Linked DNA regions of Homo sapiens: regions 2, 3, 4, 5 and 6 are each linked to region 1. The links are contacts of gene promoters, found by promoter capture Hi-C in blood cells and fetal thymus (Javierre and others, 2016). All regions are on one chromosome and are shown on one strand. The core of a region is centred on a gene start or on the middle of the fragment in contact, and the rest is flanking DNA. Distances in the headings are between cores, read along the strand shown. Region 1 holds the start of SKIL (SKI like proto-oncogene). Region 2 has its middle 22 kb from the start of RPL22L1. Region 3 overlaps LRRC31 (leucine rich repeat containing 31). Region 4 overlaps LOC105374211 (a long non-coding RNA gene). Region 5 overlaps SAMD7 (sterile alpha motif domain containing 7). Region 6 overlaps SEC62 (SEC62 preprotein translocation factor).

Region 1 (3,943 bases), core at 812-3,311:
CCAGTAAGAACAGCCTCCGACTTAAAAAATTGCCCAGTTATCTTCAAGGATTATAGTTCATTCTTCTTTTAATTAATCTGGAAGAAGAGAAGGGGGGTTGGGGAAGAGTTACATTTGAATTTGCTCCAGAGGCCAAAGGGCCAATTTGAAACCAGTTTCTTTTATTTTTTTTTTTTTCTTTTTTTTACGGAGTCTCGCTCTGTCGCCCAGGCTGAAGTGCAGCGATCTCGGCATACTGCAACCTCCGCCTCCCGGGTTCAAGCAATTTTCCTGTCTCAGACTCCGGAGTAGCTGGGACTACAGGCACAAGCCACGACACCCGGCTAATTTTTTTGTATTTTTAGTAGAAACGGGGTTTCACCATATTAGTCAGGCTGGTCTTGAACTCCTGACCTCAGGTGATCCGCCCGCCCGGGCCTCCCAAAGTGCTGGAATTACAGGCGTGAGCCACCGCACCCGGCCGAAATCAGTTTCTTAATCTTAAACTGAGTTCAGTTTACCAAGGTGAAGCTTGAGTGATTTCTTTAAATCTAACACCAGTTTACTAGAAGAACATTCATTTAAATAGGAAAGCAATTTGGAGTTGCGTAAAGCGAGCAATAATATAACATAAAAGGCCTTTCGAGTTCAGAATATGAAGACTCTTAAGCAGATCATCTCAATTAGTAGTACCGGGGCTTTCTCAGCTATGCCATTTTAAGGGAGGGAAAAAAATCCATTACTTCATCTCCTATTTAAAAACAAAACAACAGTTTCATCCAAAAAAATCAGATAGGAGTTAACATATCTACCATATGTAACTAAGTTACAATTTTAAGTGGATTAATTCAGCTAGTCCGTGTACACTATTTTTCTGGAATGACTGCAGGCAAAAATTAACTTTCTCTTAAAAAAAGGTTAGCGATTTTACTTAATGGAAGCCAAAAGCTATAGACTCCACGCCTGGGAATCTCCATCCTTCAACAAGACTAATCCGGGACAAAAAGCACAAGGCAGACAAACCTCACAAAGAATGCAAATGGAGGAAGAGGGAAAAAGAAAAGACTCTTTTTCCACTTCCTTCTTGAGAGAAAAGCCAAAAGAAATCCAATAAATAGAAATTTTTGCTTCCCAAACTCTCAGCACTTTACCTTAAAACAGACCCAAAGGATTAAGGACCAATGCCACCAACCATCGTACAGACTTTCGTCCACCACAGGAACACACCTTACTCAACACAGGCCAAGGAAGAGAGCAAGAGGCATGACCTAGAATGGGGGAGCCCCTAAAACCCTGAAGTCCTCCGCCCACTCAAAGCCACCCACCTATCTCTAACCCGGAGAGAGGGAGAACAAGGGACACGGGAAGCCTGGGGGTGGGTGTGCAAGGGGGTGGAGGGAAGTAAAGGGAGGAGTCCCCCCACCCCCACCGGCGAGCCTGGGATAACCCCAAGTGCCCTCCCAACACCGCCCCCCCGCGGGGGCCGCGGGAAGGACTGTGGAAATCCACCCCCCCGCGCACCCTCTCCCTGGGAAGTTCTCGGGTGTCACCTCAGCGCCCCTAATGCTGCACCTCCCCGCGCCAGCCCCGGGCCAGAACGAAGAGGACACCAGGGCAGTTTAGGCGCCGGGCGCGGATCCCTGCGCCGCCGGGGGCTGACGGACCGGGTCGAGACCAGGGCATCCCCGCGGAGCGCTGCTGGACTGGGGGAGGGGGGCGGTGACGGGCGTCCGGGTCTCCGGGGTCCCCGCGGCTCCCGTCAACTACAGCGCCCTGCCCTGCCGGCGCCCACCGCCTGGGGCCAACGAAGCGTGATCAGCCGTGGAACACCCGCCTAGCGACCCCCTCTGGCCCCGACCCCACCCGGGACCCGCGCATCCAAACCCCCTACTCGGGCCTCGGTGCCCGGGTAAGCTCGACGAGCTTTGTGAATTCCCCACCGCCCCTGTCGCCGCCGTCGGGCTCCTAGGAGGGTGAGCGCCTCTGGCCTCCCGCCGCCTCCGCCGCGTCGCCGCCGTAAGCCGGAGCCGCACCTGTGCCCGCCGCCGCCGCCGTCGCCGCTCGCCCGCTCCCTTCGGCTGTGCCGGCGCGGCTCCGAACCCCACACACATCGCTACACACAGCCCTCTGACGTCACCGAGTCCTCGGCCCGCCCACGTCACTGCGGAGACACACAGCTTCCCGCAGACGCCGCCGCCGTCTCCGGCCGCCCGGGGGAGAGCGAGGGCGGCGGGGAGGGGGAGGGGAAGGGAACGGAGCCAGCGGCGGCGCCGCGCGCGCGGGCCCGCCGGCGTCGTCGCCGCCGCCGCCACTTCGCGGCTCCCGGCCCCCTCGTGGACGCGCGTGCCGTCTGGCCTATTGTGGCTCCTCAGAGCGCCCCCCTGGCCCCGTCGTCTCGCGCGCGTGCCCCTCCCCCCAGGCGCGCGCCCGGCGCTTCTGGCCCCGCGCGCCGTCTGGGAAGCTGGCGCGCGGCGCTGTCTGCGGTGCACCCGGCGCAGACAGGATGTTCCCTCCCCACCCCACCCTCACCGCCGCCCTCCCTCCTTCCTTCCTCTAGTCGCCCAGCCGGCTGTCTGGGGCCACCGCCCCGCCCCCGCCCCACCCGCCGCTCTGTGGTGATGGGCCAGACGCGGGGGCGCCCTGGCCGCTCGGACGCCGCGCAGCGGGGAAGAGGGGGCAGGGCAGCCGCGCGGTGCACTGTGCGCGACCCCAGCAGCCGGCAGGGCGGAGGCAGTGCCCGCCCGGCAGAGTGCCGCCGCCCGAGGTCAGGCACGGGCGACCCTCCCCCTGCGGGGCCGCAGCTGGGCCGCCCCGCCCCGGAGGCAGCCGGGCGGCGGCCGCCCTGCAGGGCCCCCGGGGCCGGCTCTGCTCCCCGCCCCCGCGGGACCTCCCTCCTGGGCTGCCCCTCGCCCCCGCGGGGCCTCCTGCCCGAGGGCCGCCCAGCCAGCTGCCGGCGCTCCGCCCCGCCCCGGCGGCCCCGGCCTCGCCCGGGCGGCCTCCACCCAGACGCCTTCCCCTGGCTGACCTCCATCCGCCATCGGGCCGGGCGGGAGGGGTGGCCAAAGTTCCGGCAAAACCGAGAGCAAACATTTCTGTCCCTACTCCCCAGCCTCCTGCCTCCACCCCACCAGGCTGCTCTCTCGGTTCCAGAAGGGAGCTATAAATTAAAGGTTTTTACAGTGTTTACTGAGGGTGTTTTTTTGTGTGTGTGTTTTTTTGGAGAGGGACGAGACGAGGTAGGGAAGATAGGACTCAAGAGCTTTCCGGCTGTGACCCTCTGAGGCGTGTAGGGTGGTCTTCCTGGTTCCCAGGGTAGCCGATTAGCATATTGAACTCTGCAGAGCTGCTCCGTCACATTTCGAAACACCAAGAAATCCCCTTTTCTCCACCCCACCACAAGATCAGGAACTGAAATAGTCCACCGAGTAGCAGTGCACAAAATTCAGGAGACTCGAGCTTTGTCCCTTTTTTCCCCCCCATTTTCGTCCAATTTCTTCTAGTTTTACTGCTTCGGGTTGTTCCTGTGGGGGCCCACATTTGCAGTCGGCCGGCTGGAAATACTCTTGTGCTCGTACTTTTTATTTTTTTTTTCCTCACAACAGGCCTCCGAAAGGCTCACAAGCCTCTCAATCCCCACCACTCCCCGCACCCCCACCCAAGTTCCCTTCCTTAGGCCTCCACCGCCGAGCTCCCAGGTCGTGCCCCCTCTCCACCCCGCCCCCCCACCTTTTCTTCCTTCTTGACTGCCTCCTTTCCTGAACATGAATAATTCCACAGCACTTTCCATCTGTTATTGCCATAGAGACAGAAGCGTGGCAAAGATAATGATGTTCTGTGCAGAGCCAGTGGGGGAAAAACAGCATCTGCGAGTCTAGGGGGATAGATTTTCTAACTGTGAGAATATTCAGAAGGCCTAGCTGAAGATCTGATGTGAAGACTGGACAGTCCTGAAACTTGGCACCAG
Region 2 (3,943 bases), core at 689-3,188, 490 kb before region 1:
TGGAACCACTTGCAATTGGTCTGATTCCACAGCCTGTTTTTTCCACTTCTTCAAAGCAGAAAGGTATGAGCAGGAGGAAATAGAGCTATAGTACATGGCATGAGTGGAAGGGTATGGGGAACATTGGAGGAAAAGTTTGAAAAATTAGAGTGGAGTGAGAGTAAGGAAGAAATTGAAACAGAGATGTGTATGTTGGGGAATGAAATGATGAAGGCTGAAAGTAACATGTAAAATATATTAGTTGAAAGAGACTGATGTCTGGTGTGGGGGAAACCCTAGGAAATCATCAAAGAAAATTAGCAAAGAGACTTGAATGGTTACCCAGGCAGGAGGAATTGAGGGTTTAGTCTTGAGATGAAGGAGTGGATGGATGCAAGAGAACCTGACTTCATTTGCTTAATTTTGCATATACGTATAGAGTGCTTGCCATGAGCCAACATGATGCTCAGGGCTAGGACTGCAGCAGTGAACAAGATAGACCCATGCTCTGCTGTCATTGAGCTTACAAAAAGTACTAACAGGATTTGATGATGAAATGGAGAGAGGGGTGAAAGAAAAATGGAGATAAAATAGACTATAATTTGAACCTGGAGGTCAGATTCTCAGAAGTGAGGACAATTCATATCTCTGATTTGATGTCATTGAGTTTGAGTTTTGAAATAGACATTTTCCTGCTGTATCTTCATAGAAGAAAGTTTTACATAAAAGAAAGGATGGGCAAGAACACTATGATGATTGTGTTTTCTTATCTATTTCTAAGAATTGTGATTTCTTACATGTCAGAGACTCTAACATTCTAGTTATAGAATCACTTCTCTTCAGTGGGGCTTGGTTTCCTCTATCGTAAAATATGTTGGCTGTCTTAAAATTCACCAGGGCCTAAACCTGGCTGCACGTTAAAGTCAGCTGGGGGATTAGAATCACCTGCACATTAGAATCTCCTGGGAGAGCTTTTACGTAATACCCAAGCCCAGGACTTACCCAGACCAGTTAAAAAAGAATTTATGTTGGTGGTTTCAGGCAGGGGTATTTTTGTTAACTTTCCCAGATGATTCTAATACTTAGCCAGGGTAGAGAACCACAAGTTGGATAATCTCTAATGTCCTTTCCACGTTTGAAGAGGCCATGATTTTCAAGGGCAGAAAATTAAACACTCTTAAGGTTACATTTTGTAGATTAATAGGGTGGGAATGAGCTTAGGGTGTGGGTGGTTATACGTAATAAAAATATATTTATATTCGTCTAATCCAAGGAAAAGAGATGCTCTTGAAAGAACTATAAAAATAAAAATAGCCGAGCATGATGGCTGATGCCTGTAATCCCAACACTTTGGCAGGTCAGGATGGGAAGATCACTCGAGCCCAAGAGTTTGAGACCAGCCTAGACAACATGGTGAAACCCTGTCTCTACAAAAGATACAAAATTAGCCTGGCATGGTGGTGCGTGCTTTAGTCCCAGCTACATGGGGGGCTGAGGTGGGAGGATCACTTGAGCCTAGGAGTTTGAGGCTGCAGTGAGCCATGATTGCACCACTGAACTCCAGCCTGAGCAACAGAGCAAGACCCCGTCTCTAAAATATAAAAATAAAAATACATTTACATTAGTTCAATCCAAGGAAAAGAGCAGCTCTTGAAGGAACTTTTAGATCCTATCTGGCTGCAAAAAAGGAGAAGCACAGAAACACATCCAGTATTTGTGTATGTGTGTGTATAAACTACATACACATATAATTATTATTAGCACTCATAGAAATATTGGATTAATTCCTAGCTGCATGATAGGCTGTAATGTGATATTTTTCCCATTAGATGGAGCTATATCTTTGTTAAGGAGACTTCTTATAACTTTCTAAAAGGGATATTTTATAGATGATGAATTTTCCAGTGAAACAGGAAAGAACCATTATTAAAATGCATGATATAAATTGTTTCTAAAATAGCCATGTTATTTCTAACTCTTTAAATATCTTGAGTTGTTCATCTGTTTGGCTTTGCACAGGCTTTATATCTCACATACTGTGTGGACATAAACATACTTAATAAAACTTTGTTTTCTGTATTTCCCTTCAAAAAGGCCCAAATCAAACTCAACTCCTGGAATAGTAGCTCTTAATAGTATTTCAATTAGGATATTTTTAAATACGAGTCTACAATCTTTTATTTGCAGTTTCAAATTAAAAGAGGCACATTTCATAAATTAAAAAAAACAGACATTCAGTTAAACTTGAATTCTACTTAAACATTTTGTGTGCATGTGTGTGTGTGTGTTTTGTAGAGACAGGGTCTCCCTATTTTTCCCAGGTTCATCTTGAACTCCTGGCCTCAAGTGATCCTCCCACCTCAGCTTCCTAAAGCCCTAGAATTACAAGCGTGAGCCACCACACCTGGCCTGAATATGTATTTTTTTTTTTTTTTTAGTATAAGTGTGTTTCATGCAATGTTTGGGGCATATACTAAAAAATTACTTGTTCCTACACCACCACCACCACCACCACCACAAAAAACAAAAGCAACCACAACGATAAAAATTATTTGTTGTTTATCTGAAATTCAAATTTAACTGAGCAGTCTGTATTTTATCTTGCAACCCTATCTAAAAACCTAAGATTTTTGTAACTATTTTATGGCAAAATGTAACCTAGAGGTGAGGCTATTTATCGTCTTTACTTTGTGTGAATGTTTATATGTATTACTGTACATTATATGTATTAATGTTTTCAGTAATGGGTACTGCTCCAGATTCCACTGGGAATGTTACATAATCCCTGATATTTGTACCGTATTATCTTTTTAGAATAAAAAAGCAAGGAATTCCAAAATATATTTGTCTCCAATACTTTTGGAAAAGAGATTGTGGGCCTATAATAAATTTCTACCTTTGTAAGCAAGAAAAATAAATATGCAAGAAGTTATTTCCGAGAGTGCTGTAAGAAATTTTTAAAATTTCAAAATTACTTCATTATCATTAGTAGGACTGGAAATAACCATCTATTTCTTTTTTAAAAGAGTCTCTTACACATGGACATGGGGGGGTAACATCACACACCAGGGCCTGTCAGAGAGTGGGAGGCAAGGAGAGGGAGAGCATTAGGACAAATACCTAATGCATGCGGGGCTTAAAACCTAGGTGATGGGTTGATAGGTGCAGCAAACCACTATGACACATGTATAACTATGTAACAAACCTGCATGTTCTGCACATGTATTCCAGAACTGAAAGTTAAAAAAAAGAAAATGAGTCTCTTAATTTTTGCTGTCTTCAAAGAAGTCAGGGAAAGAATAAGGGAGACAAGGAACCTACAGTCCAAACTGAAAGAACTAAAGGAGAAACCATCGTCCTCCTCAAAAGGAAAGTCACCACAGACCCCAAAAGATAGGTGGCCATTTTTTCTTTCCTTCAAGCCAAACAAACCCTGAGAAAGAAGACTCCCCAAATGTCTTCACATTATATCCCAGAATGTTGTTACTTTGCTACCTAGGAAGTGCTTTTTTTTTTTTTTTTTTTTTTTTTTTTTTTTGAGACAGTCTCACTCTGTCACCTAGGCTGGAGTGTAGTGGTGCAAGCTCAGCTCACTGCAACCTCCGCCTCCCAGGTTCAAGGGATTCTCCTGCCTCAGCCTCCCAAGTAGCTGGGATTACAGGTGCCTGCCACCACGCCTGGCTAATTTTGCATTTTTAGTAGAGATGGGGTTTCTTCATGTTGGTCAGGCTGGTCTTGAACTCCCAACCTCAGGTGATCCGCCCGCCTCGGCCTCCCAAAGTGCCGGGATTACAGGCGTGAGCCACCGCACTTGGCCTGGAAAATGCTCTCTAATTTGTCTGAAATCTGTCTGCTTTCAGTACATGTTTAATAGAATCAATGTTGATGACCATTAAAGCACTGCTTACCAACATTCTCACAAATATGCCTTTTACTTCATTAAATACGTATTGGTTTTCTCCTC
Region 3 (3,943 bases), core at 414-2,913, 490 kb after region 1:
GATTTATCATGATGATTTATTTTGGTAATTGAGGAACTGTAAAACCAATATTCATTCATTCAATTGTTTGCTCATTTAACAAATATTTACCAAATACCTCTCAGGTAAAAGGCCCTGCAGATTACCATGTGCATAGGAGGTTCCAGTAAGTTTAAATCACGATGCTCTTGAGAAATGAACCAGGCATTTCATAGATGAGTAAACCAAGGCTCAGAGAGGTTGAGTGACTTGTTCCTCAGACAGACCTGTGATTTGGATCAGGTCTTTTGACTGTACTGCTTACTTGTCAGTCACATCAAACATGACAGAGCACCCAGTGGGATGTGGACTGAGAAGAGATTTCTGCGTCTGTCAGTTTGTAGGTTATTGTTGGTGACCTTTGAGAAACAATGTATTTGGATAGAGGAGTGTAGCAACCAGAAGGTAGAGGGTTAGCTTGTAAATGTGGGGAAGGAGTTGGGCCAGCAAGTGGAAACCACTCTTTCCAAACATTTGACAGTAAAGGAAATGCTTGACAGAGCAGTGTCTTGAGGAGAAAACAGAAGAGTGGGTTTGGTGGGGCTGGAACTTGAGGATGATTGTAGGTCGAGATAAAAAGCTTAAAAACAAAAGAGAGACAGCAATAAGATGCAATGCAGAGAAATTTTTTAAAATACAAAAATAACACACACACACACACACACACACACACTAGGCTTTGGAACAAACTATTCTGGGTTCAAATTCAGGCTCTGCTTCTTCCTAATTAATCGTGTCTCTAAGTTTCCAAATCTATGAAATGGTTTGTGACTCGTTTAGACAAAATGTCCTGTACTTGCTGGCACCTAAGAGGCAGTCCCTCCCTGTCTCCCATCCACAATTCTGCTCTGCCCCACCCAAAATTAGGGTTGCCAGAGAAAATACATGCAACAGTTGAGGCATACAATAAAACAATTCCTTGTCGATTTAAAATTTAAATTTAACTGGGCACCCTGTTGTTGTTTTTCCTAAATCTGGCAACTCTACCCAAAATTAAATGCCTTGTGTCCAATGTGCCATAAAAACGGAAGGCGAGAGTGAAAGGTTAAATGGTGGATGCTGCTGCCTCCTACTGGTGAAATGTGGTAACACCAAGCATCCCAACAAGGACGCGTATCCTACGTGTGGTTTTCTTAGACCAAACAGGAAGCCACAAGACTGCTGTGGATTACAGGTGTAGTTTTTATTATCCTGCTAATCATTTGGTCTAAATTTATTACTACTGCAAACCTACTATCTTTTAATTTTCACAGGTACCAATGTATTTCTTCTTAGCTATGTTGTCTTACACCTTTTTGTCAGGGTTAATAAAATATTACTGCTCATTCCAGAACTTATTATTTCCTATTGGATTTCAATATACATAATCTATATGTTTAAAATTGTATATTTCACTTACAAAATCACTTTAAAATCACTGTCAGTACATGTATATTCATTTTTCCTTAGAAAAGTATGATGTGTTTTATGTATGTCTTAAATGCTGGCACCTGGCCTGCCATGGTGACTCATGCCTGTAATCCCAGCACTTTGGGAGGCCGGGTAGGTGGATCACCTGAGGTCAGGAGTTCGAGACCAGCCTGGCCAACATGGCGAACCCCTCATCTCTACTAAAAATACAAAAATTAGCCGGGCGTGGTGGCAGGCGCTTGTAGTCCCAGCTACTCGGGAGGCTGAGGCAGGAGAATTGCTTGAACCTGGGAGGTGGAGGTTGCAGTGAGCTGAGACTGTGCCACTGCACTCTAACCTGGGTGACAGAGTGAGACTCCATCCCCCCCAACAAAAAAAAAAAGAAAGAAAAAAGAAATGCTGGCACCTGCAAGTAGGCAAAGAACGAGTACATAACAGGTGCTCAATAAAATGATAGCTTTTATTATTATAGTGCTATCTTTTTTATTTATTTATTTATTTTTTTTAGATGCAGTTTCTCTCTGTTGCCAGGCTGGTGTGAAGTGGCACAATCTCAGCTTACTGCAATCTCTGCCTCCTGGGTTCAAGATATTCCCCTGCCTCAGCCTCCTGAGTAGCTGGGACTACAGGTGTGCACCACCACGCCCGGCTAATTTTTTGTATTTTAGTAGAGACAGCATTTCACCATGTTGGCCAGGATGGTGTTGATCTCCTGACCTCATGATCCACCCGCCTCAGCCTTCCAAAGTACTAGGATTACAGGTGTGAGGCACCGTGCCCAGCCACTAGCATGTTATTACAGTGTTATTACAGAGGAAGCTAGTGAGGGTGCCACAGTAGTCCCTAATAACAAGGAGGACAGACGAGGCTTTCCAAATTCACTTTCTGGCAGGAGTTGAGAAAAAGCAAAAGCTCTCCCAGGCCTAGTTTCTCTGGATTTGTGTTTGCCAATTGAATGGTCTAGAAACTGACCGGCAAGAATTCCACTTACTCCGTGTGGCCATTTGCAGCTCCTTGATGGTGATTTCAACGCTTTCCCTTCTTCACCTGTTTGGTTTGAGGAGGCAAGTATCTCTGCTTCCTCCCTAGCAGTTGCATCCACCAAAGATATGCGTGCCCTTCAAGTAAGCAAGCATCTCAAAAGCCGGGCTGACAGGTTTACTTCTCACCCAGGAATGCAGCTCTGTCTTCATGCTGAGAAGCCCAGGTCAGGTCATGATAGAAAAGCCACTGCGTTCCTCAGGCTCCTGAAGCAGTGTCTGGGCACCTGGCGGCAGGAACAGTGGTTAGTTAAGCTTTGTCCCTAGTAAATGGCTCTGCCTCTGAGTTGAGGTTTTTATAAAAGAGCAATTCAGAGTTATGCAGTCTTTTCACTTGTCTGATTGTGGTCATTATGCATCTTTAATACATCCATCATTAACAGCAAATTCTTTTTTATGCTTATCACACAGCTAAGCCTCTCAGTTCAGAAATGGAATGGAGATCCAGTATGGAGAAAAATGAGCATTTCCTGCAGAAGCTGGGCAAAAAGGCTGTCAACAAGTGTCTAGATTTGAATAACTGTGGATTAACAACAGCGGACATGAAAGAAATGGGTCTGTATGCAGCAGACTTTGCATAGAGGAAGATAGGGCCTTTCCATTGAGATAAGCAGATAAAACATACTCAGCTACCCACCTAGTAACCCCAAGTCTGCTGAGTGGTCCCAGACAATTGCAGAAACAGCATCGCTTTTTTTTTTTTTTTGAGACGGAGTCTCGCTCTGTCACCCAGGCTGGAGTGCAGTGACGCATCTCAGCTCACTGTAAGCTCCGCCTCCCGGGTTCACGCCATTCTCCTGCCTCAGCCTCCCGAGTAGGTTTTTTCTTTTTTCTTTTTTCTTTTTTTTTTAAGAAAAAGGCCAGGCGCAGTGGCTCACGCCTGTAATCCCAGCACTTTGGGAGGCCGAGGCGGGTGAATCACGGGGTTAGGAGTTGAAGACGAGCCTGGCCAAGATGGTGAAACCCCGTCTCTACTAAAAATACAAAAGTTAGCCAGGCGTGGTGGCGGGTGCCTGTAATCCCAGCCACTCGGGAGGCTGAGGCAGAGAATTACTTGAACCTGGGAGGCGGAGGTTGCAGTGAGCCAAGATCGTGCCACTGCACTCCAGCCTGGCGACAGATCGAGACTCCGTCTGAAAAAAAAAAAAAAAAAAGGAAAAGAAAAACAAGTTAATTGATCCTTCCTCAAGTTTTGAAGACTTCAGCTGAGTTTAGGAAAAGAGGCTGTATGAAATCTTACAGACACACTCCTGCATTTTCAGACTGCAGTTATTTGGCAGAAATAGAAAACATCCCAAGAAATAGCAAATGTAAACATCACAATTTCTCCACTTGTACAGCTGAGGGCTCCCTGCTTTGCCCAAAGTCAGCGTGCCTACCACTGTCTATTCTCTTACAGTGTAAAACTATATCCTGTGTATGTAAGCATTGCATTTTATTTACTACAAATCACAAGTCACATACACATATCTGTA
Region 4 (3,943 bases), core at 938-3,437, 460 kb before region 1:
CTCTGGGGCCTGCTCCACTACTCATCATTTTCCTTTATTAGTTTCTCATTTAAAAGTTGAGGACAAAGAAGTATGCACAAAGAGGTTTCTCCTTCCTTAGTTACAACAGCAAAATTGAAAACAATTTAAATGGCCAACAGTAGGAAATGTTTAAGAGAAAAAATGTGGTCTATTTATTCTATGAAATATCTAAATATTAAAAACAATAGTTAAAAAATAGTTTGTAATGACTTGGAAAATGCTTTAGTAGAAATTTAGTAGAAATTATCTTTCTGCTGCTTTTTCATCTTCTGGACCTCTGAGCCCATGGTACTCAAAATGCAGTCCTCCCACTGGCCAGCAACATCAACTTCGAGCATGTGAGAAATGTAGAATCTCAGGCCCTAGCGCTGCTGAATCAGCATCAGCATTTGAGCACCATCCCCACGTGATTTACATCACATTAATATTTGTACCTATCTGAGTAAGGAGTCTCAAAGATTCAGTCCTCAGGCAACTTCTCAACTCTGAATACATCTGTGCCTTAAGTTAGTGATTCTGGTGGCATGTTAAGTTTGGTTAAGTTTGGCATGTTAATGGTGGCATTCTATTGCTCTGGGATGTGGCCATGGGGCATAGCACTTGTGTAAGTAACTCAGATGTTTCAAAAATACAGATGAGGTCAAGATCTACCATCTGTGTCAGTGGTGCCCAAACTTTTTGGCACCAGGGACTGGTTTCATGGAAGATAATTTTTCGATGGATGGAGAGGCAGATGGGGGATTGTTTCAGGATGAAACTGTCCCACCTCAGATCATGAGGCATTAGAGTCTCATAAGGAGCACACAACCTAGATCCCTCCCATGCACAGTTCACAGTAGAGCTCCTGCTCTATGAAAATCTAATGCCGCTGCTGATCTGACAGGAGGCGGAGCTCAGGTGGTAATATGAGCCACGGGAGTGACTGTAAACACAGATGAAGCTTGCCTGCCGCTCACCTCCTGCTGTGCCGTGTGGTTCCTAACAGGCCACAGACTGGTAAAAGTCCTCGGCCCGGGGGTTGGCGACCCCTGGTCTACATGATTTCCCCTGTGATACAGTTTTAAGCAGAAAATTCATGATACCAAGTTGTAGGTTCTATGTGTTATTAACTATGGAAAAATGCATACAGAAAAAGACTGGAAGAAAATATACCAAAATATTAATCATTATAAAAATTGAGCTGGGTCCAATGGCTCAGGCCTATAATCCCAGCACTTTGGAAGGCGAAGCAGGTGGATGGCTTGAGTCCAGGAATTCAAGACCAGGGCAACATGGCAAAACCCCATCTCTACAAAAAAAGTTAGCCAGATGTGGTGCTGTGTCTGTAGTCCCAGCTACTCGGGAAGCTGGGAGTTGGGAGGATTGCTTGAACCCAGGAGATTGAAGCTGCAGTGAGCTGTGATCACGCCACTTTACTCCAGCCTGGGCAAGAGAGTGAGGCCATCCAGAGAGAGAGAGAGGCAGAGAGAGAGAGAGAGACAGAGAGAGAGAGAGATGCATTCTTTTGAGGAGGAGTTGGTTTCTTCATATTTTTCTTTATAGTGGTCATAAATCTCAGGCCACAGACTCAGATGTGCAAGAGACATTAACTTTATTCTTTCATACGCCAACTTAATTTCTACTTAGTTCCTCAATCTGCTTGTGGTGAAAACTTTTCAGTCACTTCAGAGGGACCTCTGTCAAATCAAGTTTTGCTCAGTCAAGCTGCCACTAACCTATGGCATCATTGTGCAAATTAGAAAAAGATCCCCTTCCAGGAGGGTGCAGCCCCGCGCCAACACAAACTAGATTTCTGCCTACACCTGCTTCTTAAGCTAGGGGTCCCTGTGCAGTGAATAGTATGCATTTCTGTGTATGGTGGTTCTGGGGACAGCTAATGTAGGACCCCAATTCTTTATCCAGCATTGCAGGTAAATTCCAAGAAGCTTTCAGGTGGCACTGGACTGAATAGAGAGAGGCCACGGAGGGCATAAAGTCCCTGTAGCCTTCATCACTGACATTGTCCTTGCTAGTGTGCTCTGATTCCCATTAGGTCACCAAGGGAATTGGCTGAACAGACTAAGCTTTTTTGGGCTCGGCTCTCTCTCTAGACTTCTAAGCCCCTCTGGGAAATAACTGGCTGCTCCATGAGCCTCCGAGGGAACTCCATGAGATCACCTCAGCCTTGTCTGCCTGGATAGTCTTTGCAGCCATTCTTTAAGTTACATTTGGGGAAGCTGCATAATGGCTGCTGCCCTCCTGAACTTCAGTCACATGCCCCAAAGCTTCTATTCTTAGATATCTCAAACTTTCTTATGAGTTTTTTTTGCCACCTCTCCCTTCTCTAAGAATGGCTGGGGGCTAGAGGAGGAATGGGTAGGACATAAAGCCCTTCCTCAGTGCTATTCTTTTCTACGCAGGGGATCTGTTCCTCTGGGGTAGGCAAACTGCCTCTTGTATCATTTTGTACTCTTCCAGTCTATTGCTTATCCATGGGCTTCATGTCCTCCTCTAAGATTTACAAATCAAAACTTTGACTTAAGGCATTTCCTCTACTTTTCTCTAGTTTCACTCTTACCTGGCTTAGTGAGACGTAATGTTTTTGCAGGTGGTCTGATGTCTGTTATTAAAGGGAAATGCAAGGTTCACAGTGAGAACCCGACACTGGTTTTAGCTCATTCCTTGCAGGAAGCCTGATTTTTCTCACTCAATTTTGTTGGTCAAAATTTAATGAAGGCTGTAAAATCCAATGCAGGATGAGAAACACAACATTCATTCCTGGGTACTCATAGACATTCATGGAGACACTTAGGAGCATCACTTGGGTAGACAGGAGCACGTTCTTCTGCCTGACTACATCTTCCCTACTGAAATGCTGGTTTCGAGTTCACATACCCAGAGATCACTGAAAGCCAGGCACTGGGGAATGGCTAGTAGGGAGAATAGTACAGGGGAAAACACTTCACCCGTGGGTATTCACGAGCTTCCCCAGGAGTGTTTTTAGATCAGAAGACAACTGGTGAATTTCCAGGAACAGCTGCTTCAGTGCTGCCACATCCGTCAGCTCTCAACACGTGTTAGTGTCTGTCCTCCCTCCTTCTTTGGAATTTAGAACTGTGCCATGGTCTGGTTGCAGGAATCTCATTAAAGAGCTTCCCTTTCTGTATTAGTTTGCTAGGGCTGCCATTAACAAAATACCAGAGACTGGATGGCTTAAACAACAGAAATGTGTTTTCTCACAGTTCTGGAGGTTGGAAGTCCAAGATCATGGTGTGATCAGGTTGGTTTCTGGTAAGGCCTCTCTTCCTGTTCTTTGTAGACAGCCACTTTATTCCTGTGTCCTCACATAACCCTTTTTCTGTGAGCACGCAAGGAAAGAAATTTCTGGTGTCTCTTCTCCTTCCTATAAGAACCCCAGTCCTTCAGATTATAGACCAACCCTTAGGACCTCACTTAATCTTAATTACCTCCCTAAAGGCTTGAACTCCAAAAACAGTCACATTGGGAATTAGGAGTTTAACATCAGAATGGGCTTGGGGACTGGGAGAGTAGTTCAGTACTTTAACGCTTTCCCTGACAGAAAATTTTGTGATCACCTACTACATGTTGGGCCCTGTGCCACATGCTGGGGATAATAATTTATAAAAATGTTTCAACCCCTGCCTCAAGGAGCTCCTCCTCTGGGGACTGAGTCTGCAGCCATCAGAGGAGTGGGGTCACAATGAGATGTCTGGAAATGGACCTCTGTGGTAAGTGGGGATTCCTGCATGGCTTTTGCTATGATCGTATCTCAAGAAAGCAAATTCTGCAAATATTCTGAGTGGGTGGTAGTAGAGCTATTTTCTTGATGTGGCAGAGTCGCATACAAAAGCCCTTAAAGGGATCAATGAGACGAATTTCTGAGCTAGTCTGAAACAAGAACTGGGGATGAACTTTGGCAATT
Region 5 (3,943 bases), core at 786-3,285, 420 kb after region 1:
AGGGATCCTTGTGGGCCATCTCAGAGGCTGCTTTCTAGAGTTTGCTCATGTTAAATGTAAATTTTTTAAATAGAAAATATATTCTCATGGTTAAAAATTCAAAATGTTCAAGAATGTATATGGTAAGAAGACTTCATATCCTGTTAGCCAATCCCCTCCTTGAGCAAACTGTCATCATTTTCTTGTTTATCCTTTCAGAGACATTCTGTTAAACATCAAGTTGAAAATGTGGGATTCCACAGGGTGTGAGCAGAGAGCACTCCACCTTGCCAGCTCAAACCTGCTTTGCAGAGATAACTTCCCCACCCCTTGGATGAAATCTCAAGTGGATACTATGACTTTTCACCTCCCTCTCAGATAAAAAGCAGTCCTCCAGTCACTTTCAGTCATAACATAGTTGTATTTCAGAAATAAAATACCTAGTCATGAATAATATTCAAACTCGATTTTTTTTTTTTTTTTTGAGACAGAGTCCTGCTCTGTCACCCAGGCTGGAGTGCAGTGGCACGATCTCAGCTCACTGTAGCCTCCGCTTCCCAGGTTCAAGCAATTCTCCTGCTTCAGCCTCCCGAGTAGCTGGGACTACATTCGCGCACCACCAGGCCTAGCTAATTTTTTTTTGTATTTTTAGTAGAGACGGGGTTTCACCATGTTGGCCAAGCTGGTCTTAATCTCCTGACCTCATGATCCGCCCGCCTCAGACTCCCAAAGTGTTGGGATTACAGCCGTGAGCCACCGCGCCTGGCCAAAACTCGAAAATTTAAGGTTAAAGCTTCTCACCTTCCCTAGCTTGGGCCTGCTTCACGCTGGAAATCTGGAATGAGAAGAGATGGAGTCGTGGTCAGCTTCTCCATTTCTGTTCTGTACTTCTGCCCGTTCTCTTCTGCCTCTCTGTGGTTTCATTGGGTTGCCTTTATCTCTTTCAGGGTTTGGGAATGGAAAATGAGTGAAAAAAGGGAGGGAGCTCTTTTTTCAGTTTCAGCTCTTTTGGTTTCTTCAGAGATTTCTTCATGGAAACATCCATCTGCAGCTTTCTTGATGTTTGTAAATCTCCCCTTCATTAGCATTTGCTCCTAAGGATGCGTCTCCAGTCATTTGGTGCTGGGGTCATTCAGCCCTGGCAGGGAAGCCCCTTGGGCAAGTCTCCTCCATGAAAGCCCCAGAAAGGCTGACTTTCTCTTCTCATTCTCCATCCAGTACTGGGAAATCCTCACACATCCTTTGTAATATCCTAGGCTCTTTGGAAAACTGGCTAAGACTATTCTTCCTCCTTGAGGGCTTTTAGTTTCTCATACTACCTCGCTCAATTCCTTTAGGAATTATTGTATCCTGGGGACAAAAAATGTTCATTGTATCACTCCAGGAATTAGGATCCAGAAGAGGGGATGTATCTGCTGGTTGATCAAATGCTTGTCTTATAGGAAATGAAAGAGTTTTCTTGTAGAACATACTTCCCACATGCTGAGATACCTTTTAAGACAAAATAATTATAGTAATCAATTCTATGAATTTTTTTCATTAACTCAGCATTAAACACACATCACAGAGAGGCTGAGGTAATTTCAGGCATGGAGCATCTATTAACATATAGTTGTGGGGGTCACAATTGTAGGATGTGGTGGGCTTTTTCTTTCTCTCAGAATTATAGTGTTTACAGATGTAAAACAGGGTATCAAGGTGGCTCTAACCAGGGGCAGCTGAGCAATAGTGGAATTACTGAGGGGGAGAAAAGTAGATGGTGAGGTCAGGACGGTAATGGTGGTGGCATGTTAGGAGGAGCACAAATGACATAGGTCTTTGGCTTTGGCTCTGAAGGCAATGGGGAGCTATTGTAGAATCTTGAGCAGAAGACTGACACAATCCATCTTACATATTAAAAGGACCACTTTTACTGTTTTGTGAATCAACTCTGGGTGGGCAAGGGCAGAAGCAGGGAGAGCAGTTAGAAGGCCAATGCATGATTTCTGAAAGATTTAGAACCAGAAATACCATTTGACCCAGCAATCCCATTACTGGCTATTTACCCAAAGGAATATAAATCATTCTATTACAAAGATAAATGCACACATATGTTCATTGCAGCACTATTCACAATAGCAAAGACATGGAATCAACCCAAATGCCCATCAGTGATAGACTGGATAAAGAAAATGTGGTACATATACACCATGGAATACTATGCAGCCATAAAAAGGAACGAGATCATGTCCTTTGCAGGGACATGGATGGAGCTGGAAGCCATTATCCTCAGCAAACTAATGCAGGAACAGAAAACCAAACACCGCATGTTCTCACTTATAAGTGGGAGCTGAATAATGAGAACACATGGACATAGGGAGGGGAACAACACACACTGAGGCCTGTCAGGGGTTGGGATGGGGGGAGGGAGAGCATCAGGATAAATAGCTAATGCATGCTGGGCTTAATACCTAGGTGATGGGTTGATAGGTGCAGCAAACCACCATGGCACATGTTTACCTGTGCAACAAACCTGCACATGTACCCCATAACTTAAAATAAAAATTAAAATTAAAAAAAAAGAAGGCCAATACAGTCATCCAATGAGAGATGATGGTGCCTGAGACCAGGATGGAGTGGTGGAGGTAGTGAGAAGTGGCGTGCTGGGGTTGGCTAACTCACAAGAGCCAATTATTCAATGTTTAGGAAGTTTGCAAGCCAGTTGTTAAATACATCATTATTAAAAATTAAGTCAAAGCATCATATTAAATAAATTATGTACAACAAAAGTAATATATGCTTAAGGCTCATCACTTTTTAATTGTTTTTACCTAATTATTTTACTATTATTATTACTTCTGCTCTTGACGTTATTCACACCTATTATATTTGAGATTGTATCTGGTAGAAATACTCTAAAGTGGGGTGCTGCTATGCATCTTTTCCCATTTCAGGATAGTCACCCCCAAGTGTCATGGGCCCGGAGCGAGGAGGGCAGCACTCCCGAGTGGGATGATGATTTCTCGGAGGATGACAGTATTCAGTGACATTAGGAGTTTCTCAGCCACGGTGGGAGTAATTTACACCACAGAAATTGGAGATATTACAAATTGGGGCTCATTTTTTTTCAAAGAGAACTACTTGTTAAACATTTACCAGTGCATCCTTGCTTATCATCTTCCCAGTTATATCTAGGAATGTGTACCACCATCCCATCCAATGTTTTCAGGGTCCCTCACTTCTATTATGTCCTCAACCACAGAGGGAAAGCAATAAAGAAGTTAAATAAGTATTATTTATATTACAACAAGATAAAAGTAACATATTTGTATTAAGCTTTGTGCCATTAATACATAATTAGTTATATAAAATCACCATACCTGTGACTGAATTTTTAGTGCCGGCCCTAGCTTTAATCCCATAGTGCCTCGAAGATGCTCTTCTGTGAGTAATGGCAAAGTTTCTCCATCAATTGCATGATCTTTAAATACCTTCATAAATACAAAAGGTGTTAACTCTGTCTGAATGTCTTTTTTTGAAAAAGTTCTTTTACCACCTAGATATTTTAGTTTTGGAGAAAACATTAAGACTGCTTGAGGATGACAAAAAAATTTGTAAAACCTTTTTTTAGTTGCTCTCTTTTCTGTGCTCAGTAGCATATTGCTTGTGCTCTTTAATAACCTTTGTAATCGACTGTAATTCTCTGTTTATAGAACTCAATTCCAACCAGGAATAGTGATTATTTGAGGGCCAGGTCAGTGTTTTTTTGACCAATGTACCCCTAATACAGAGGCTGGCATATGGTAAGAAGATGTACAATAAATATTGCTGGATAAATGAATGAATGAGTAAATGCTGTAAGTAAAGGGATGTGGGTAAAACCTGTTATGGATAAATTTCATGTCTCACATTTACAGATGTGGTATCTGCTGGCCATGCCTTAGATGCTTGGTAAAGGGAGGGGAGGGAAATGCTGCTGAGAACT
Region 6 (3,943 bases), core at 455-2,954, 370 kb after region 1:
TCTCCTGGTATAATTTTATAATGAAAAATAAAAACTATCAAGGACAATGAGTTTACACATCTTAAAGAAACTGTGAAATGGCTACATAACTATGCATAATGTGAAATGTTGGAGTTTCTTTGTTCCTTTTAAAGTTATTTTTGATTAGTCTAACAGTAAAAAGCCATAAAACTATCAAAAATTGCCATTAATGTAAATTTAACTGTGGAAAGTACATCTTTGATAACTGTCAAAATGAATGAGACCTACTTACTGTAAAATTATCAAATGGATAAAACATATTAATGGCTTTAAACTGTACCAATAATAGTGCCAATATTCTATAAAATGAAGGACCGAATATAACTGCTTGAATGTCAAATACATTTCAGTAGATAGATTTAAAGAATGCTACAAATGCCATGTGTTCAATATGGTAATCAGCCAACATAGAAAATCCAACCTCTTGTACTTATTCATTCAGTCCCAAAATTAGTCAGATTATGATTTTTCATGTGAAGATTTAGGTGTTTCTCCATCATTTTCCTCTTCCTCATCCTCTTCACAATCCCCATCTGTTTGCTGTTCCAGTTCCTCTTTTGTTATCATTTCAAAATCATTTCCATTTCCACTACTGTGCTGGGATCGATCATCTTCCCTCCTGTCACTGTCCGTGTCTGAATGCCGTTCTCCCCCCGAGCCTTCTGTTCCATGATTTCCTGGTCCTACTTTCCCCTCCTCATCTTCCTTTTTCTCACTGTCTGACTTTTCCTCACTGTCGGACTTCTGTTGCTTTTTGGTTTCAGACTTCTCATCTTTCTTTAAGTCTGCTTTTGGTCCTTTGTATTCATGTGTGTACAGAGGCCTGAAGGAGTCAATGAAGCCCACATCAGCAGTCAGATTTGGCAAGAACCAAAAGTGGTGCCTTCCTCCAGTTATGAGCCAAATGATGAGAAATAGAATGCATCGAGCTGTGGGGAGAAAAATTTCTCTAATTGAGTAATTCAAACACTGCCTCAGAAGGGAGTATTTGTTAATAAAAAGCTGGGAAAACAGTTTTATTATCTGCACATTTCATACACCTTAAATATTAATATTTAAATCCTGATTAGTGCTGGGCGTGGTGGCTAAACCTCTAATCCAAGCTACTTGGGAGGATCACTTGAGCCCAGGAGCTCGAGGCTGCAGTGAGCTATAATTACACCACTGCATGCCTGAAAACAAAAAATTCCTGACTAGTTTAGCAGCTATCACGGTATTCTAGGGGCACAGAATGTTGCTCTGAACTTGAGGTCACAATGCAATAATGTCACTGAAAAAAATTACTTCTTTTTTCCATCTGGGTGTACACTTACATGGATATACACTTCTGATTTATGTACTTTGTGATATTATGCTTCAATACACATAGCAATCAGTTGGGAATTTAAGTATTCATAAGATCATGGTGTAGGAAAAGAATAAAATAAAGAGATGAAAGGTGTTTAGGAAGGAAGCCTTTAAGAAGGAAAAGCAGGGCTGCATCATACTTCCCAAGGCCCTAGGCCCTTTTGCCTTTGTAAGGCACTTACTCCACAAAAACTATTAAATATTATATTTTCTATACATTTATGACTATATTTTCTGTACATCTGTATAAACACGAATAAAATACTGTATAGGTTTGCTATTACATACATGTATATACATTACTACTTCTGATTTAAAAGAAATAAAAATGAAAATATTTCTGTGGACCCCTATATGTATCTTGGTCCAAGGCACACGTTTACTATGCCTAAAGGATAAATTAGCCCTGGATAAGGAACCCCAGTATTAGAAAGTTTCCATCTTTTAATCCTTGTTTTCTTATTTATTTATTGAGGACAAGGTCTTGCTCTGTCACCCAGGCTGGAGTGCAGTGGCACAATCATGACTCGCTGCAGCCTCAACCTCCTGGGCTCAAGCAATCCTCCCACCTCAGCCTCCAAGTAGCAGGTACGTGCCACCATGCTCCGCTAATTTTTGTATTTTTTGTAGAGATGGGGTCTTGCCAAGTTGCCCAGTCTGGTCTTGAACTCCTGGGCTCAAACTCCCAAAGTGCAGGGATTACAGGTCTATATCTATCATTTATTTATCTAATCTCTCTCTCTCTATCTATCCTCCCTCTCTCTCTACCTATCTACCTACTTTGATAGACAGGTTCTTGCTATGTTGTCCAGGCCAGTCTTAAACTCCTGGCTTTATGTGATCCTCTCACCTCAGCCTCCCGAGTAGTTGGGATCGCAGTTGTGAGTCACTGAACCTGACCTTTTTGTTTTATTAGTTAGGTAAACTATGTAATTTTTGCTTAAAGACCAATCCTCTCAATATTAGGAAAAATACAATGTTAATGAAAGCAAGATCACTTAAATACATAAGGTTTACTCTTTTATAACACTGTATTATGAAAAAACTGTAGAAAAATGGAATTTGAATTTTAAAATTTGTAGTAATGAGTTATCACAAACCCCAATATTTAGTTTTCTCTGAATTTACCAATTATGTAGAGCTGAGTGATTTTTTCCTGTTTTTTAAAAGGTCATGATGATTATGTGAATGTTACAGACTAATCAATTATGACAGGAGTTTTGGTTTTTGTTTTCTTTAGACAATTCTGTCACTGTTTTCATATAAAGCCTGAAATAAGCTAATCTATGTGTCTTCCATTATTTTGCTTTGTATAAATGGAAGAAAATCGTTATAGCTGTCTTGACTTTTAAAAATAGCAATTTTTATTTTCACAAGAATATAAATATTCTGAAAGACTCCTGTACACATTAGAATCTTTCGTGGTATAAACGGAAAAGGTAAATATGCTTAAAATTATGATTTAAGAATAAATTCCACTGATAAACAGAGATAATGAATTTAAGGAGGCTGTACATTTTTTTCTCCAATTATGATGCAATGATAGGTTTTACAGGATTGTAAGACAGATGATTCATAATATGAAATCTTGTATCAAACCAAAGAAAAAGCAATATAGAAATGGCACTAACCTAATTTCTTATCACATACAAATGGTATGGCAAAATGTTCATGTTTTACAGTTTTTCGCTATGTGGCACTAGATTACCGAGAGTGAAAAGGGAAGAATTATGGGGAAGCTGTGACATGTACTATAATAACATTCCTATGCTAAAAGCGACAGATTTTAGAAAACTGCCAAAGGTTTTATTTTAAATGGCATTATTAATAATGCATATTCAAAGAAACACCAGATATAATTGTGACCAATACATAATATTTCAAGACCCTGACTTTAAAAAAAAAAATTAGCTAGGCATGGCAACATGCTCCTATAGTCCCAGCTATTCAGGAGGCTAAGGTGGGAGGGCTGCTTGAGCCCAGGAGTTTGAGGGTACAGTGAGCTATGATTCTGCCATGGTACTTTACCCTGGGCAACAGAGCAAGACCCTGTCTCCAAAAAATGAATATATATAAAAATATATTTCATATAAATATGAGATATCATATAATATATATGACATATCATATGATATATATTATATGATATATATGATATATAATATTATGATATATCATATATCTATATATCATATATATTCATATATAATATACATGATATATATTATATGCGATATACATAATATATATAAAGACTTCAAAGAATAATATAAAAGAAATATCTAATTATTTGAAAGTATATTTGGAATTGCATTTTCTAAGAGAATCAAAATAAAATGTTGGGTTTGTTTCCTGGTATAATTCAGAAGACTATTTGGTTCATAATGCATATTTAAATCCACAGCATATTTACAATGAAAATTTATTTAAAGAGACTACTGAAGAAACAATATTTTAAACAGCAAAACTACATAATAACCATAAACTATTGTGAACACTGGTTTAATTTAAAAATAAGCAAGTAGAATAATTCTATTCAGTGGAGCTAAACCTTTGCTAAAAATTTCCAAGGAGT

Evidence for each region. Contacts are between HindIII fragments. The CHiCAGO score rates a contact against its expected background, and 5 or more counts as called.
Region 2: a fragment that was not itself captured here is called in contact with the fragment with the promoter of SKIL in region 1 in 2 of 17 cell types (erythroblasts and endothelial precursors); the score reaches 5.6 in erythroblasts.
Region 3: a contact is called between a fragment that was not itself captured here and the fragment with the promoter of SKIL in region 1, in 4 of 17 cell types (fetal thymus, neutrophils, activated CD4 T cells and 1 more). The highest score is 8.9, in fetal thymus.
Region 4: a contact is called between a fragment that was not itself captured here and the fragment with the promoter of SKIL in region 1, in 4 of 17 cell types (endothelial precursors, erythroblasts, naive B cells and 1 more). The highest score is 7.8, in endothelial precursors.
Region 5: a fragment that was not itself captured here is called in contact with the fragment with the promoter of SKIL in region 1 in 2 of 17 cell types (total B cells and neutrophils); the score reaches 8.3 in total B cells.
Region 6: a contact is called between a fragment that was not itself captured here and the fragment with the promoter of SKIL in region 1, in 1 of 17 cell types (neutrophils). The highest score is 6.1, in neutrophils.

Annotation. Positions count from the first base shown.
Region 1 is chr3:170,355,833-170,359,775 of GRCh38, reverse strand. SKIL (SKI like proto-oncogene) reads right to left here and starts at 2,061. Exons shown (of 7, transcript NM_005414.5): 1 at 2,013-2,061; 2 at 1-77. RefSeq lists silencers at 1,479-1,548, 1,639-1,768, 1,819-2,048, 2,209-3,108 and an enhancer at 3,389-3,488. The HindIII fragment of the contact is 9,771 bases long and covers 513-3,943 here.
Region 2 is chr3:170,846,376-170,850,318 of GRCh38, reverse strand. No RefSeq gene overlaps it. Among named protein-coding and RNA genes, the nearest start is that of RPL22L1, 22 kb to the left of the region's middle. The HindIII fragment of the contact is 4,274 bases long and covers 1-3,943 here.
Region 3 is chr3:169,860,750-169,864,692 of GRCh38, reverse strand. It overlaps LRRC31 (leucine rich repeat containing 31), which reads left to right. Exons shown (of 9, transcript NM_024727.4): 2 at 2,880-3,023. Among named protein-coding and RNA genes, the nearest start is that of LRRC31, 7.2 kb to the left of the region's middle. The HindIII fragment of the contact is 2,125 bases long and covers 601-2,725 here.
Region 4 is chr3:170,812,595-170,816,537 of GRCh38, reverse strand. The region is part of intron 2 of LOC105374211 (a long non-coding RNA gene); the gene reads right to left. Among named protein-coding and RNA genes, the nearest start is that of RPL22L1, 56 kb to the left of the region's middle. The HindIII fragment of the contact is 201 bases long and covers 2,087-2,287 here.
Region 5 is chr3:169,935,845-169,939,787 of GRCh38, reverse strand. It overlaps SAMD7 (sterile alpha motif domain containing 7), which reads right to left. Exons shown (of 9, transcript NM_001304366.2): 8 at 3,339-3,449; 9 at 613-1,470. The coding sequence ends at 1,282. Among named protein-coding and RNA genes, the nearest start is that of SAMD7, 26 kb to the right of the region's middle. The HindIII fragment of the contact is 2,522 bases long and covers 775-3,296 here.
Region 6 is chr3:169,989,601-169,993,543 of GRCh38, reverse strand. SEC62 (SEC62 preprotein translocation factor) reads right to left here. Exons shown (of 8, transcript NM_003262.4): 8 at 1-950. The coding sequence ends at 481. Among named protein-coding and RNA genes, the nearest start is that of SEC62, 25 kb to the right of the region's middle. The HindIII fragment of the contact is 6,807 bases long and covers 1-3,943 here.